Regions from separate parts of the Homo sapiens genome. Here region 1 is linked to region 2. The links are contacts of gene promoters, found by promoter capture Hi-C in blood cells and fetal thymus (Javierre and others, 2016). All regions are on one chromosome and are shown on one strand. Each heading gives the region's core, a stretch centred on a gene start or on the middle of the fragment in contact. The rest is flanking DNA. Distances are from core to core; before and after follow the strand shown. Region 1 overlaps PRDM4 (PR/SET domain 4). Region 2 holds the start of POLR3B (RNA polymerase III subunit B).

Region 1 (5,412 bases), core at 2,611-5,110, 1.4 Mb after region 2:
CTCCTATAACAGAATAAAAATTCAATGAACTTAAAAAACATGACACTATAACAAGACACTATAGTGCTTGACTGAAATTATAGCTGTAGAATTATAAACACCAAATGAAAGAGATACTGGAGGAGAAAGAAGAAAAATTATGTGCAATTAAGAAATTCAGCTTAGTCAAACTGTATTACTAATGTGTTATGTGCCACATTCTAAGAGGAAAAGTACATAAATATAAACAAAGATACTTTTCCTGCCTAGAGATTAATATCTAATAGTGACAAACAGAAAAAAGTGTTATTCATATCTTCAGGATAAAAGTTTAAAAGCTGGCGCCGTTCTTTTTCTCTAACATCTCAAGTAACTGTAACACTTACCAGGTAGAATGGTTCTGAAATAACTGCTCTCCAGGTGAGGGTAAGGTGGTGGAGGTAGGGTGTAGTTTCTTTCAGGTAACCCACACATCACCCCTCGATCCCCAATACCCATTGGTAGCATTAAAGACAGAGCAGAAGGCAGAGAGCTCAGGGAGGGACCCAGGTTTGGAATTGCCACTGGGAGGCCTACAAAACAAAATTTTTTTTCTCAGTTAAAAGAAAATAGGTAATTAAAAATTCTCACTACAACCACTGGCTAAACTCTTAGAAAGGTTTTTACACATGGGCAAAAATCTCACCTACTAGCCCTTTTCATCCTTAGATAATGTGCAAATATCCACAAATAAGCCTAAAGAAAGTAGTCTTAGTCCCAAAGATAGTTTTTAAGTTAGTTCTAAACCGGCAAGTTGATACTCCAATTGTCTGTATTGCGCTTAAATACAAAAATATTTAATTAATTAATTTATCGATTGATTTGAGACGGAGTCTTGCTTTGTTGCCCAGGCTGGAGTGCAGTGGTGTGATCTCAGCTCACTGCAATCTCGGCCTCCTGGGTTCAAGCAATTCTCCTACCTCAGCCTCCTGAGTAGCTGGGATTACAGGCACACACCACCACACCCAGCTAATTTTTGTATTTTTGCTAGAGACAGGGTTTCACCATGTTGGCCAGGCTGGTCTCGAACTCCTGGCCTCAAGTGATCTGCCCACCTCAGCCTCCCAAAGTGCGGGGATTGCCACCATGCCCAGCCAAAATATTTAATTTAGAATTAAAAACCGAGTTTAAATACAAGAAAACAAATTATATAGAGAAAAAAACAATGGAAACATAAAATGTTCATAGGAGTAGTCCCTAGGTAGTGATAGTATGAAATTTTTTTGGTATTTTTAAACTTTATTGTATTTACCATTTTATATGGTGAGAATATTTCATTTCTACCTGGAAAACAACGTAGTTTAGTTAGATGTAAAACTGTACATGTACACCTTCATACAATCTTTTGTATATATGCTACACTTAGTGATTAATAAAAGCTTTAAACGTGAGATTATATCTACTTTGAGTTATATGTACTTGCAAAGTGAAGTGACTTTTACTGGGCTAAGTATCATAATAAATACCCACCAACTTGGTCAGTGCTGATTTGCATATTTTTGCCAGGGGCAATATTTTTTTTTTTTGAGACAAGGTTTTGCTATGTTGCCCAGGTTGGAGCGTAGTAGCATGACCATGGCTCAGGCAACCTGAGCTTTCCTGGCTCAAGTGGCCATCCCTTCTCAGCCTCCTATGTAGCTCCTACGTAGCTGGGACTACGGGTGTGTGCCACCATGCGCTGCTAATTTTTTTTTTTTTCTTTGTAGAGATGGGGTCTCCTTATGTTACCTAGGCTGATCTTGAACTCCTGGGCTCAAGTGATCCTCCTGCCTTGGCCTCTCAAAATGCTGGGATTATAGGCGTGAGCCACTGTGCCTGGCTGGCAATATTTTTTAACAGGCTTTTCCACCTTAACAAGAGTGTCCACTAAAGGGAATGCCTACAAACAATCAAGTGGGTTAACCACTAATAATTTTTTAAGATTTCTTTTGTGGACACTTAAACAAATGTGAAGAGACCCTAGTTTCAATGAATCTTATTTAACTGCTGCATTTTATTAATTAAGCAAGTAATTCTCTTTAGAGAACTATTTAAACAATATATAGATTTATTTATACTAACTCCTACTGTGACAAAGAAAGTCCAATACATAACAATGTCATTGATCCTAAAGAACTGACAGCTTATCATTGTAATAATCAATAGAATATTTATTCCATTTATATTCTATTTCAATAGAATAAGAAAATGAAGCTAGGCAGAAAAAAGGTTTTAAAAGTACAGTGACGGCTGGCGCGGTGGCTCACACCTAAAATCCCAGCACTCTGGGAGGCCGAGGAGGGCGGATCACCTGAGGGCAGGAGTTCGAGACCAGCCTGGCTAATATGGTGAAACCCCGTTTCTACTAAAAATACAAAAAATTAGTTGAGCATGGTGGCGTGTGCCTGTAGTCTCAGCTACTCGGGATGCTGAGGCAGGAGAATTGCTTGAACCCGGGAGGCGGGCGGAGGTTGCAGTGAGCCGAGATCGTGCCATTGCACTCCACCTTGGTCGACAAGAGCGAAACTCCATCTCAAAAAAGAAAAAAAAGAAAATGAGCCAGGTGTAGGGGTGCATGCCTATAATCCTAGCTACTCAGGAGGCTGAAGCAGGAGAATCACTTGAACCCGGGAGGCGGAGGTTGCAGTGAGCCGAGATCGTGCCCCTGCACTCCAGCCTGGATGACAGAGTGAGACTCCATTTCAAAAAAAAAAGGATAGGAAGAATGAATTTTTCCTATACGATTTTGCTGTGTATGGAGGCTCATGAGGCGTTCCATGTAAAAGCCCCAGGTAAAAGTACCACACTTCTTTCCACATTAATTCTAGACCTGGTACACTTGCAGTTATTGCCATTTAATTTCAAACCTGGTGGAATATAAAGCCCAATTCCCCATGCTCTCTGGGAATAGTTATTAGAGTAATTTTAACTGATTCTCTTCTATTAACCCAGGGAACGGGTACTGAAGTGTGAACCAGATGAATGGGCAGCCCTAAATAAAATGCCAAGTTAATTACAGCTCTGGACAAAAAGCTACCAACTCAGAAGAGGACTATCAGAAAAAATTGCTGCTACTATCCACTAGAATTCTAATACTCTACCTCTACAAAAACCTTATTTTCCATTACCTATCACATGTTGAACCACCATTCAGGCCTGCTTACCTTCTCCCTTCTACCTTCTACCCTTAAAGGGGCTCTGATCTCTTCTAGACTCCATTTAGAATTGATAACAGAGTTAAGTGTTGAAATGCAGTAGGTCTCCCTTACCACTCACCTGGGGCAGGGATGGCACTGTGAGTGGGTGAGGCAGCCAATCCCAGGTGACTTCCTGAGACTGGCAAGGCATTGCTCACAGAGGATGAAGTCAGCTGCTCCATCCCCACTGGACTCAGGTTCATTTCATTCATCCTAGAAAAGAGCACACACAACTAGTTATGCAAAAATTTACTCCAATGACTCTGTATTAAGATACTGAAGAAACTGAAACAGTGGGGATGGGGAAATGGGACTTGGCCAACTATTAGTTCACTTTTACGCTCAACAATTCTCTTAGATAGCTAGTGCCATATTCTTTCTACTGATAAGAAAACTGAGATTGAGACATTAAAAACTCAATTCAATGTCACATAGCAGAAATAGGATTTGAATTCTGCCTTGTTCGAAACTCTAGGCACACCATCTAAAGCAAAGTCTGCAATTCTTAGAGCACAATGGCAATGACAGTTTTTTTTTAAATCACTCAAGCTTCATCTTTTATAATATTTATTTTTCTCCAAATGGCTTATTATTTCAAACCAGTAGTGTTTTAGGCAGCGCATTTTAACCTACTCAAGTAAATTTTACTAATCATTTTTAATAGGAGTTAAAGATCCAGATTATCGATGATGTGAAAAGCATCGTATTTTCCCCATTCAGCAACAGTTTACTAAGATTCTGTATCAGTATATTAATGTCCTCCAAATATTGAGGGTCATTATGTAAGCTTTGCTACCACTTCACTTAAAATGACTTCAAATCCTCACACCAATACTGCAACGTAAGATAGATGAGGGAACTATGGCTCAGAGAGGCCATGTCATATGCCCCAAATCACATAGCTATTAAGTGAAAGATCACAGATCAAACTGCAAAACACTGCCAAAAAGTTTTTCATTGCACCAAACTTTTTTTTAACTGCACCAAACTTTTTTTTTAACTACAGACTATTTTTGGCAAGGTGAAGAACCTAGGAATCACCTTTTCTATGCAAACCATCTTGCACTGCCATTACAAATGTCTTTCGAATAAGAGTAATACTGATTTGAATAAAACAGCACTGAAGGTTGTTATCAAAAAGTATTAGTTCTTATATCATAATTTAGAGACTGCCATACTATAAACATTACAGAACCACTAGGCTAGCCAACAGGTTACCCAAAAGGGGCTCTCTAATGACCTCCAGTCCTTACACTGGGCTTTATTCTCTGCGTATGGGAGGGGGTGAAGCAGAGAAGAGGAATCAAATGAGGTTACATATTCCTTAGCAGTGAAATCAAATCTAAATAGGTTTTTAATTCTGAAAAATGGCAATGCCATTTTATCAATCAACCTGAAAATAATAATAGCTAAAATTTATGGCTCCCTTACCATGTGCTATGTATTGGGCTAAGTGATTTATATGTAACTATCTCTCTTAATCTTCTTTTTTTTTTTTTTTTTTTTTTTGTTTTTGAGACAGGGTCTTGCTCAGTAGCTGCAAGCTGGAGTGCAGTGGCGTGATCACAGCTGACTGCTGCCTCTACCTCCTAGGCTCATGAGATCTTCCCACCTCAGCCCCCAAGCAGCTGGGACCACAGGCAAGTGCCACCATGCCTGGCTAATTTGTTTTTATTTTGCAGAGATGGGGTCTCCCTATGTTGCCCAGGCTGGAGGTAGGTATTATTCTTAATCCCACTTTAAAGATGAGGAAACTTAAGATTCAATGATGCTAGGAAACTTAACCCAGAATCACATAACCAGTAAGGAGAGCTGGGATTTAAATTCAGAACTAATTTAAGAAACCAAAGCTCTTAACTATAGTAAGAAAAAGACAATTACAATAAAAGAACTATATTGCCTTTTACACAGTTGCAATACATTAGGGCCTATCTACTTATATTGTGGCGTATATTTAAAGTTCCACATAGACCTGTTTCTTGCATTATTAGGTTTCACCCTTATCCCTGGCCATGGATCCCATAAAACTAAGCTCTAAGACATCAATAAAATGTAAAAGGCCAACCTAGTACCTTGTATAGAACAGACATTCTGAATTTTCTTATTTTATCGGATGGAGCTATGCAAACTCATCACCCTTACCAGAAAGACAGCTAGAAGCACCTGGCAAATGAGGTACACCTTATGAAGAACAGCATGCTAATAACAGTTTTTATTA
Region 2 (6,184 bases), core at 3,147-5,646:
TGGTGCTGTTACCAAATGCTGACTTGGCATTTACTTCTCAGCTTCTGTTGCTGCCCTCCCCTTTGGGGTGTCTTCATTAAACGTGTCCTGAGAGGGAATACGATTGAGTTTGCTCGCCACGTGTCAGTTTAGATGACCCACAAACCCCACATTAGATAGGGTTCTCATGATAAGCCACTTCATCCCTTAAATCCAGCCCACATGGCTGTCCTGGGCAGGTACCCGGCCCTATTGGTTTTGATAGGATAATAAGATCACATCCACAAAGAAAGGTCTGGGGGCATGGCAGGCAGCTGAAAGTTTTTGGACTATCCAGTCTTGCCTAAAATGCAGAATGTTCTGACTTCAAGGGCTCTCCCTCTGCTGTTGCCTTTTGAGACTGAAGAGTCCTTATTCTTTCTCTGACATTGTTTCTGGTCTTCTCTAGTTCTATTATGAATTAATTGAGACATAGAAATCAGAACCATATGTATCTTTTTTCCCAGTCTGAATGCATCAAGGTTTCAAGAAAGGAAGATAATCTTTTTCTTTTGTTTCTAGCACCTTCATGTTGAAGCCTCTCAGAGCATGGTCTAATTTTTTTTACAGGGCATAACAGTCCGTGATGGTACAGCTCCAGTGGATCTTTCTAGTGTCATCTACAGACACGTCCCTTGAAAAGCCCTATGTGAGAACCACACTCAATTGTCAGAATGTGGTATAATGTACTCTAATGCCCTCATGCCATTGCTCACGCTGTGTTTCCCTACTTGAAACGTTTTCCGCTACCCCATGCTTTTGGTATGGCGTTATGATAGAGTGGTTAAAAGCATGGGTTCTGGGGTCAAATAATTATGGATTTAAATTCCAGCTCTGCTTGGGCAAGTGTCTTAACCCCTGTGAGCCTTAGTCTCTTTACCTTTCAAGTGGGGATAATCATACTTATCCCCGGGGTTCAGCACTCAATTAGAGAATGCACATCAAGTGGTCATTGCAATGCCTAAGAGTAAACACTCGGTAAATGTTAATATTTCAAGGCCCAGCTTGGACACCTCTGCCTTTCCTTTTTCCTTGCTCTCCCTTAAACAAGATCCCCTATTCCCCCATGGCACTGGTCAATTTTTCATCTGGCTACCATAAGCCATTGTACATTAAGTGATAAGATAGTATTCCAACATGTTAACCATTTTTCCTTCTGTGATTTTTTTTTTTTTTTTTTTTTGAGACGGAGTCTTGCTCTTGTCGCCCAGGCTGGAGTGCAATGGCGTGATCTCGGCTCACTGCAACCTCTGCCTCCCAGGTTCAAGCAATTCTCCTGCTTCAGCCTCCCGAGTATTTGGGATTACAGATGTGCGCCACCACCTCGGGCTAATTTTTGTACTTTTAGTAGAGACAGGGTTTCACCATGTTGGCCAGGCTGGTCTCAAACTCCTGACCTCATGATCCACTGCTTCGGGCTCCCAAAGTGCTGGGATTACAGGCGGCGTGAGCCACCGCGCCCAGCCTTGTGATCTCTTTTCCCTAATTTCCCACCCCTCTATTCAAACCACTGGTCTTTTTGTACTAATACCTCAGGAAAAGGACATGGCAGCAGAAAACAAAGAAATGCTGAGACTGTTCCTGGCTTCTTGGTTTCAAAACTCCAGTCCCTTAGGGTATCAGAAAGAAGTTATAGATTTGATCTGGGGGAAGGACTATGAGGGACTGTGGCAGCTATGGTCTAAGGGCCAACACCGTTCAGCATTAGCCGATTGTTGCCGTATAGGACTTTGGGACCATGGCTACCAGAGCCTCCTGCTTTTGAAGAGAAACTAAAAACAATCAGGATTCTTAAAAAGTGAGTATAATATCAAACATCACCCATTCGTTGCATTTTTTCTTTCAACTCACTCATTCAACACAAATATATTCAGGAACAACTGATGGGTTAGAAGTTGGAAACACAAAGACAAACAAGATAGTTCCCGTACCAAGAGCTCAGTCTGGATAATGAGACACATAAAAAGAGGATATGGCATTGAGTGATAAGTCTTAGGTTAGTGATTTCCAAAGCATAATCACTGGAAAGCAACAGCAGGGAACTTACTAGAAACGCAAATTTGCAGGCCGGGAGTGGTGGCTCACGCCTGTAATCCCAGCACTTTGGAAGGCCGAGGCAGGCGGATCACCTGAGGTATGGAGTTCGCGACCAGCCTGGCCAACATGGTGAAACCCCGTCTCTACTAAAAATAAAAATTTAGACGGGTGTGGTGGCGCATGCCTGTAGTCCCAGCTACTAAGGCGGCTGAGGCAGGAGAATCACTTGAACCCAGGAGGCTGAGGTTGCAGTGAGCCAAGACCGAGCCACTGCACTCCAGCCTGGGTGACAGAGTGAGACTCTGTCTCAAAAAAAAAAAAAAAATGCAAATTTGCAGCCAGCGCGGTGGCTCACGCCTGAAATCCCAGCACTTTGGGAAGCCGAGGCAGGCGGATCACCTGAGGTCAGGAGTTTGAGCCCAAACTGGCCAATATGGCGAAACCCCGTCTCTACTAAAAATACAAAAATTACCTGAGTATGGTGGCACGCGCCTGTAATCCCAGCTACTCGGGAGGCTGAGGCAGGAGAATCGCTTGAACCTGGGAGGGTACAGTGAGCTAAGATTGCACTACTGCACTCCAGCCTGGACGACAGAGTAAGACTCCATCCCCGCCCCCCACCAAAAAAGCAAAATTTCAGCCCCAATTTACCAATCAGAAAGCTGAGATTAGTTTAACAAGCTCTCCAGGTGATTCTGATACACCCTAAAGTCGGAGAATCACCTTGATAATGGAAAGCAAAGAAGACTTTGGCACAGACAACCAACACACTTGAGCCAACCTTGAGATCCTCTGCCATCTATAAATCACTTTCACAGTCCCTTCTAGGCTAGATGCTAAATTGGTTGCAATCTGGTAATGCACAATGATGAGACACAAGTTGTATCTTGTCTCTGTAATAAGTAAATTGTAAGAACTTCAAAGGCAGGGTTGATTCTACTTTTGGTGTTTTTTCCATTCTTCTCGTATTTCAGATATCAGTGCAATACTTAGAAAATACGGCCGGGCGCGGTGGCTCACGCCTGTAATCCCAGCTACTCGGGAGGCTGAGGCAGGAGAATGGCGTGAACCCGGGAAGCGGAGCTTGCAGTGAGCCGAGATTGCGCCACTGCAGTCCGCAGTCCCACCTGGGCGACAGAGCGAGACTCCGTCTCAAAAAAAAAAAAAAAAAAAAAAAAAAAGAAAATACAAGTACTGAAATTTAAGTAGCTCTTTAGTAAATAAGAATAATTAACCTGGTGCAAGGGTTCTACCTTTATGAGGGAGAAATTGGAAAGCATATATGTACTTACAAATTTTCATAACTTTTCTTATCGTTGTAAAATATACATAAAACTTAGCATTTTAACCCTTTAAAATGATGTACAGGTCAGCAGCATTAAATACATTCACACTGTTGTGCAACCATCACCATTCTCCATTTACAGAACTTTTGCATCTTCCCAAACCGAAACTCCGTACCCATTAATTAATTGGTGCATTTTGCCTTGTTTTTTCTAATAGGATTTTTCTTTCTGTTGATTTGTATGAGCTCATTTTAAATTAGAGAGACCAGCCCTTTGTCTTCTGCCAATTTATTTTTTATTAATTCTATTTGTTGGTGATTTTTTAAAATCTGTTCAGAAAATTAAAAATTTTCCGTGGAATCATAAAATCGTGTTTAGATTATAAAATCCTTTATGATTTGACTGTTGCCGTCTTGAAAGTCTTCAACATCTCAATGTTATGAATATCTGCACTTACATTTTCTTCTAAGTTTTTGTTAACATTTCAATATTTAATCCACAAAAGATTCACTTACATGTATTTTTTCCCCAAATGGGTAATCAGCTCTTCAAACATTATTTACTGGACAGGCCATCCTTCCCCTACTAACGTAAATGTCATCTTTTCATATTAAATTTCTCCATGCGCTGGGTATTTACTCCTACATCTTCCATCTAGTGCTTTTGAGAATTTTCAACACTCTTCCATTACACGCATGTACCATCATTTATTTAATCAATCTTCTATTGGTAGGCATTTGGGACGTTTCCTGCTCTTCCATACTAAACAATGCATAGAATTTTGGACTACATTAAATAATTCTCTGCCTCAGTGGTTCAAGTTGCGTAAATTATGCGTTTACACTTTTCTTCGGATTACTTTTAAAATGACAACCACTATGTTTTGCTGGTCTCAATTACCAGAGAATTGGCAAGAAACCTGACAGCTGGGGCTTAGGATTCCCTGCGCCAGACCTCCGAGCTACACCAGAGGGCGTACTTTCCTTACTCGGCCTCGGCCACATCCGGGTTCCACCGCAGATTCGGGCAGGGAGCGGGCGGAACCTTTCTACCGCGTCTCTAGCTAACACGCACGGCGGGGACAGTTTAGGCCTCCGCGCACCGTTCGCCGGGAGTCTTGCAGTTTGCTTGGTGCAGGGAAGGCGGGCGCGGAGGTTCTATCTGTTTCTTCCTCCTTCGTGAGCAGCATGGACGTGCTAGCGGAGGAGTTTGGGAACCTGACTCCGGAGCAGCTGGCGGCGCCGATCCCGACTGTAGAGGTCAGTGCCAGGCACGCAGGGAGCGTCAGGGACAAGGATGCGCCCTGAGGGGGCGTTGCCCGGAGTGCTCGGGCCGCCAAGGGGGCGGGCTGGCGGTTTGTGCGCATGCGCCGGGCTTCTGCGCATGCCCAGAGCGTCGCGCTTGCGAGTCTTTTTTCCAGAGCCGGCCTCCGCGTGCGCGAGTGAAGGCTGATCCCAGAGGAGCTGTCAGCCGCTGCGGGGGCCGAGAAGCCCCGCTGCTGGCTCTAGGGTTGGAGCTCTTCCAGCATAGGTGTGCGTGGGGAGGACTGACCCTCGCACTTACTGTGGGGGACGTATTGCATGTTTGCAGTCTTACAGAGGACACGGGGCCAGGGAGCTCAGGCCATTTGCATGAGGCACCACAGCCGGCTGTGGGGGTAAAACCAGATCGTCTGAATTCCAAGCTAGTCATCTTTCCTTTTAACTTGAAGTTCCAGTTTGGGTTGCAGGGGAATTTTAAACGCCCTCAATATTTACTAAAGAATTTGCCTGTGTGTTTTCTGGGGGAGAGACTCCACAGCTTTCATCAGCTTCTCGGAAGTTAAGGACAGCTGCCCCACAGCGAGCTGCCCAGTGAAGTGCGGCTGTCGACATATTTTGTTATCTGATAAGGCACATTTTGTAATCTCTCTGAGCCTCAAAATCTACACTGACGTGGAATAGGGAAGTGGAGACGTGGCCGGAGAAGATAGCAAAGGAGAGATTTCAGGGAAAGAGAACAGGATACTTGAAACCTCCTCGGCAAGACCATTGGATGTTTTTGAGGAAGGAAAGTAAATCCAGTAGTATTAGAGTGAAGAAAAATAGAGGAGAAGAGATAAAAGACAGGGTTAAGTAAGGGTCTTGATTATGAAAAGTTTCAATAAACATCTGACAGAGCTTGGACTTTGTCTTGGAGCAGAGCTTTTGAAGGGTTTAAGCAGGAAAGTGACATGATCAGTAAGTCTATCGGATTATAAGAACCTCCTTGGCTAGGCGTGGTGGCCTGTAATACCAGTAGTTTGGGAGGCCAAGGCGGGCGGATCACTTGGGCTCAAGAGTTTGAGAACAGCTTGGGCGACATGGCAAAACCCTGTTTCTACAAATAATACAAAAATTAGCTGGGTGTGGTGGCGTGCACTTGTCCCAGCAACTCAGGAGGCTGAGGTGGAAGGATCACTTGAGCCTGGAAGGTCGAGGCTGCAGTGAGCCGTAATTGTGCTGCTGCACTCCAGCCTGGGTGACTGAGACCTTGTCTCAAGGAAAACAAAACAAAACCTCTTTATAATAGTTTGACAAGTTAAGGAAGTTGAATTAGCAGTTCCAACAGATTCAGTCTATAAGTGCATGCAATAGGCTGCTGATCATCAGGCAAAACTATTTTTTTTTTTTTTTTTTGAGACGGAGTCTAGCTCTGTCGCCCAGGCTGGAGTGCAGTGGTGTAATCTCGGCTGACTGCAACCTCTGCCTCCCGGGTTCAAGCAATTCTCCTGCCTCAGCCTCCCAAGTAGCTGGGATTACAGGCGCCCACCATCACCGCCAGCTAATTTTTGTATTTTTAGTAGAGACGGGGTTTCACTGTGT

The links. The method cuts DNA at HindIII sites, captures the fragments that hold promoters and counts their contacts. A CHiCAGO score of 5 or more calls a contact.
Region 1: a fragment that was not itself captured here is called in contact with the fragment with the promoter of POLR3B in region 2 in 1 of 17 cell types (naive CD4 T cells); the score reaches 5.4 in naive CD4 T cells.

What each region holds. Positions count from the first base shown.
Region 1 is chr12:107,753,559-107,758,970 of GRCh38, forward strand. It overlaps PRDM4 (PR/SET domain 4), which reads right to left. Exons shown (of 12, transcript NM_012406.4): 3 at 3,274-3,407; 4 at 366-551. It overlaps PRDM4-AS1 (PRDM4 antisense RNA 1), which reads left to right. Exons shown (of 5, transcript NR_120474.1): 4 at 4,717-4,834. Among named protein-coding and RNA genes, the nearest start is that of PRDM4, 4.9 kb to the right of the region's middle. The HindIII fragment of the contact is 238 bases long and covers 3,742-3,979 here.
Region 2 is chr12:106,353,352-106,359,535 of GRCh38, forward strand. POLR3B (RNA polymerase III subunit B) reads left to right here and starts at 4,397. Exons shown (of 28, transcript NM_018082.6): 1 at 4,397-4,600. The coding sequence starts at 4,529. The HindIII fragment of the contact is 8,226 bases long and covers 1-6,184 here.